Regions from separate parts of the Homo sapiens genome. Here region 2 is linked to region 1. The links are contacts of gene promoters, found by promoter capture Hi-C in blood cells and fetal thymus (Javierre and others, 2016). All regions are on one chromosome and are shown on one strand. The core of a region is centred on a gene start or on the middle of the fragment in contact, and the rest is flanking DNA. Distances in the headings are between cores, read along the strand shown.

Region 1 (2,800 bases), core at 229-2,728:
TCAAGAAAAGCAAAATCTAGAACATAAAACTTAATCCAGAATTTATTTCAAAGTTTCACTTGAAACTTTTAAAGGTTTATTATACTGGGTCTAGATCTGTTTAACAGTGAACTGTTTTTGCAAGACATTTTGGCCAAAAAGCACCTAGCATAGTGTCAGAATTGGGAGTTGGTGCTCAATTTTAAAATGTGTTGAAAAATTGTTAAATAAACTTCTCAACATACCTGTGCTCAAAGGCAATATAGGACATTTTAAGGCGTCTTTTAAAAGTTAGCCCTTGAAATCAGAATAGCATAGGGATTTTAAAGACTGGAATCTGTGGTCAAACTGCTTGGGTCAAAACACAGGCTCTACCACTGACAGCTGGATTTTGGGCAAGCCGCCTAAGTTATCTGTGACTTTAAGTTTCCTCACCTGTAAAATGGGAATTATAATAGCACCCACCTCACCGCATTGTCAGAAAAGTAAACGACAGAAATCAACATAAAGCATTTTAGGTAGTAAGCTCTCCATAAATGCTATCAATATTCAAAGGTATGTGTTCGAGAGATCAAATCTATTAAATATACATATCAGCTTTGATCAATTGAAATCTCGGAAATTTCATAATTGCATCTTACTCCCCCTTTCCACACATCATGCGGCATCAACCTTCCACATGATGTGGAAATTACATACTTTCATTCATCCGTTTGAGAGCTTGTCATATATGGCAAGAAAGAAGAAAGATGCCTTTTTCGTGACTGTTGCTCCTTCAGAACTTCAAAACACTGTCACGTACACAATAGGTTGGAGCTGCCCTCAAAATGACAGCTCACAGCTTTGCTGGGCCCGCAGAGGTGCCCAGGCGGCTCTGCCCGGAAGGGGTTCACCCCAATAACCGGAGAATCTCCGGTCGCCACAGCCAAGCACAGCGCACGCCCGGGAACCCCAAGGAACACAAGAGAACTCTGAAATGGGGAAGGACCCTGAGTTGTGGAGAAAGAGCGGGAGGAAGGGTCACGGAGGGTCCGGAGCCACACTCGGATCAGGCGCGTCCACGCTGACAAGCCCGGGACCAGGTGCCGGCGATAGGCAGCGCCGTCCTGGACAGTCCCTTCCCTTTCCCCTACCCGTCCCCTCCCCGGCGAGCACCGAAGCCAACTCGGGTCCCGCGCCAGAATTGCCCCCCGGCGCCCCCTCACCTAAAGGCGGGTCCTTCCTTAGGAGCCCTGCCCTGGGCAGACGCCGCCGCGGAGCTGCCGCTGCTGCCCCTTTTGTTGAAGAGCTTCTGGAGCAGGGTCGGGGCCATGATGCCGCCGCCGCAGCTCCGGCCGTGGCGCTCGGGGGGCCGGCGGCTCAGCGCGCAGCCGGGGGCGGCGGCCGCGGTGGCGGGGCCATCGCGGCGGCGCGGCCGCCCAGCCTTGCGGGAGCGCGGGGCCGCTGCGACTGAGTAACTCTGCTCGGCGCCGGAGCCGCCGGCTGCCGGTCATATGACTGAGCCGGCCCGCCACCGCCTCGCGCGCTGACAGTTATCTCCTGCGGGAGGAGCCCGCAGCCCCACGGCGGCGGCGGCGGCGCGGGAGGAGCGCGGCGGCCCCGGCGGCGGCCATTGGCCCGGCGGCCGCCCGCCCCGGGCTCACGTAACCCCGGCGGGAGGCGGGAGGTGGGAGGTGCGGCCAGGAGCGGGCGGGCGGCCCAGTACTCCGGGCACGCGGGGGACGCGGACGGGGGCAGGCGCGGCACTTAAAGGGGCCCGAGGGGCGAGGGCGGCCGCCGGGGCGCAGCTCCGCGAGTGGCGTGGGGTTCCCACGGAGCCTGGGTTCTTTCGCACAGCGAGCATGCAGCTAGGCCGATCTTTGTTCTTTAGAGACAAAGCCCCTGAACTTGGGTCCTCGCTTTGTTCAGGTACAAGAGCCCGTTCACAGAAGGCGTATGCTAGGGGGGAAGGCTTGGTACGCGCGGTGGCCGCTTCGGTGGGCTGTGATTTGAATCACATAGCACCCAAGGTTTTGTCAGGTTTCCTCCATGTCCAAATTCGATTCCTCCAGGCTTTCACAAAATTTAAACTGTTTATCCAAATCATTTGTTCTGTTTGGCGTCTTGGGCCACCATACCATGGTTATATAAGAAGTTGCATTTGAAATATTAAGTCCCCCCTTTAAAACATACACACACACACACACACACACACACACACACACACACAGAACTCACTACATAGATTTAGAAACTTAAGATATTTTATAGCAAGGGATTGTTTTTCCTAATACATATTTAACAGTCAATCAAGGCATATCAGCAGCAGATATTTGGTTTGAGGAAGGGAGGAGTTCATGTGTTTGAGTCCGCTTTCCTGCCCTGTCCCACCCCAGTCCCCTTTGGAATTTAATCCTTGGTGGTGCAGGGCTCTAAACAGCCAGTGTAGGACACGTTACCAGACTCAAAGCAACTTCTTAATCTATGTTTTAGAGCGTTGGGCTTCACGAATTTTTCCGATGATGGGAAATAGAGATAAAGTTAGTAAGACCCCAACCATGCCTCTTCTAGCTTCTCCATGAGTAGTGAACAGTGACTCACCTGGGCTCTCTTACACTTGTTGAGAGGAGGACTCTTGGAGACTCAAAAAGGAAAATATATTTCCAAAAACATAAGTAATCAAAAGAACCTATTCTGGGCCTATTTTACTTTGCATTTTCTTTTTTTAATTGTGTTAGTTTCTGGACTTGGTTGGGAACTAGCTGTGAATAATGTGCTGAAATTTCACAAAGGTAAGAGAAAGGTGGTAGAAATGGAAACTTAGTCATTTGTTTCCTTCGGA
Region 2 (2,700 bases), core at 152-2,651, 2.8 Mb after region 1:
GATTCTACCTCTTAGAAGGATGGCTGCTAGAAGTCATAATAAGGATAGCTTTAGGGACAGAGTCTTACAGGGACAGGGTCCTAGGTATGAATTTGAGAGGTTATACCTATAATAAATAGAGACTTAGTATGCACAAGACGTACTAATGCCCAAGGGACATGTTTTTCCTAGTTTTATAATCAGGATAATTTCTTCAATCTCTTGGGTTCTGAGTTACCCTTCTGTTCAGGAATCTGGTATCTCCCTTTGTAACTCATTCAATTAAACACATTTAACAACAACAACAAAAAAAAGGTGAAGGTAGTTATTTTTCACCAAATCTGTTCACCAAGGCTGTTCTGATTTATCAGCTCTAATTTTTCTCATGTAAGATCTAATTTTTAAACATCTGCACTTTTCAAAAGTATCAATGAGAAGTTTCCTATGTATTCATCAAAACTTTACGTCTTTCCTCTCATAAATGAAGTTAAGGTTCAGGTCTTTTCTTTAATATTTTATATGACTTTAGAGATGGCTACTCTAAATTTGCTCCCTATCATATCCTCTGTTGAGAACATGTGCCCACTGATCCTTTACCTAACGGAGGTTGTTGGATGTAATGAGCAGCAAGGGCCTCATACAGACTTCAGTTTGTGATGCGTCTATGAAATCTTTAATAGCCAGAATCAAGAGAGACCGGAAAAGTCACTTAAAAGAATTGATAATTCAAGAAATGAAATACAGGGCTTTTTAAATTTTAAATGATGTGAAACCCATGTTAGTGAACTTGATAAGTGTATAGCAAACAAGACAATAAATAAATAAGAGAATAGATATTCTTGGATATACTGATAGTATTATTTTACCATGAAAGCAACAGATTGCTTTCAATAGATAATATTGATCCTCATTTCTAATGACATGAGAAATACTTGCTCCAAGTGAATCTGAAAGTATGGTCTTTGAGCGCCATTTCTATAATCCAAATACTCTGTTTAAAGGAAAAGGAAGATAGAGGATGAGAGTATTTTAACTGAGCATTTATTTTGCCAGTCTCTGTAATAAGTGTTTTCCAATTATTATTTTATTTCATCCTTACATTCTTCCAGATCAGTATTACTCCATTTGTTGATGGAAATAAAGCTCAGAGAGGTTGATTATATAGCCAAAAATTGCACAGCAATGGTAAGACATTTCAAATTGTTGCAAAGTTAAAAAGAGGCCAGGCGCAGTGGCTCATGCCTGTGATCCCAGCACTCTGAGAGGCTGAGGCGGGCAGACCACGAGGTCAGGAGATTGAGACCATCCTGGCTAACACGGTGAAACCTCATCTCTACTAAAAAAAATACAAAAAAAATTAGCCGGGCATTGTGGCGGGTGCCCGTAGTCCCAGCTACTCGGGAGGCTGAGGCAGGAGAATGGGGTGAACCCGGGAGGCGGAGCTTGCAGTGAGCTGAGATCACGCCACTGCACTCGCCTGGGCGACAGAGCGAGAATCCGCCTCAAAATAATAATAATTATTATTATTACGCTGTGTTCAGAAGCCTCCAAGGAAGTACTTTTAATGTTATTAATGGTTTTGCAAAATCAAAACAAGTGGGTAGAGATTAGTGGTAGGGAGAGGACGAAGCAGAGCACTTAGTGGTTTAGAGTATTTTGCTGTTGGCAGGAAGTCAACAATTTGTATAAAGATTGAGTAGCCCTGACATGGGCTATGGAGAGCTGTGAAATGACAGGAGTCATTACACCAGAATAGCAAATGGAATTCTTTTAGAAGTTGGCTCCTGGTTGAACAAGTGGAAGACAGCAACATTTTCAGAAGTCCTGCAGACACTAGTGCCGCTGACATAAAGAACAGTGTATCAAGTGGTAACAAATAGAAAATATATGTGGAGATATTTGTCTTTTCAAACACATGGCACAAGACCAAAACCAAGTAACTGTTATTGGAATCATCATTGAAAATTAGGGACATAAATATTTAAAATAAATAAATAATACATTCATTTATTTCATTATTAAATTGGTGTTATTATAACTACTTCACAACCGGAACACCTAAACTTTGGATGGTGAAATGACACTTATAAGGCAACACAAAAATTAAGAGAAGTACATGGGAACTCCCTGCCAACGATGTATAAGTTTGTTTCATCTGGCATTTGCCAACTTGAGTGGCAATATATTGTTTCTCTCGTAGATGTCACAAATGATCTAGTGAGATAAACTTGCATTAGCTCTCCAACTAAATAGAGTATGTGGCTCAACTACTGCCTCCCCTCCCAGACACACGTGTAGAACCCACACGTACAGCATTGCCTACACTCAAGAGTCTAAAATCCATTCCTAGAATTAGATTTTCTTAATTAAACAATTTGTGTAATTTTAAGGATCTTGAAAGGGCGTACCAGTCTATACCTCATGTGCGTGCGTATGTGTGTGTGTGCGCATTTGGTGTGGTGTGGTGTGTGTGTGGTATATTCCTTTTTTGTTCTGTTAATATGGTGTATCGTACTGATGATTGATTTTGAAATTTTAAACCAACCTAGCATTTCTAAATAAACTTCACTTGGTCACAATATATTGTCCTTAACATATATTGTTAGATTTGATTTGCTATTTTGTTAAGGATTTTGTGTCTACAGCGTATTTATGAGGGATACTGGTATGTAGTTCTATTTTATTTAGATACATTTTTCTGGTTTAGAATCAGGGTAACAC

The links. The method cuts DNA at HindIII sites, captures the fragments that hold promoters and counts their contacts. A CHiCAGO score of 5 or more calls a contact.
Region 2: a fragment that was not itself captured here is called in contact with the fragment with the promoter of FNIP2 in region 1 in 1 of 17 cell types (non-activated CD4 T cells); the score reaches 5.9 in non-activated CD4 T cells.

The regions. Positions count from the first base shown.
Region 1 is chr4:158,767,704-158,770,503 of GRCh38, reverse strand. FNIP2 (folliculin interacting protein 2) reads right to left here and starts at 1,478. Exons shown (of 17, transcript NM_020840.3): 1 at 1,185-1,478. The coding sequence starts at 1,291. RefSeq lists an enhancer at 833-1,570 and a silencer at 1,528-1,737. The HindIII fragment of the contact is 6,862 bases long and covers 1-2,800 here.
Region 2 is chr4:155,945,659-155,948,358 of GRCh38, reverse strand. The region is part of intron 1 of CTSO (cathepsin O); the gene reads left to right. Among named protein-coding and RNA genes, the nearest start is that of CTSO, 6.9 kb to the left of the region's middle. The HindIII fragment of the contact is 6,081 bases long and covers 1-2,700 here.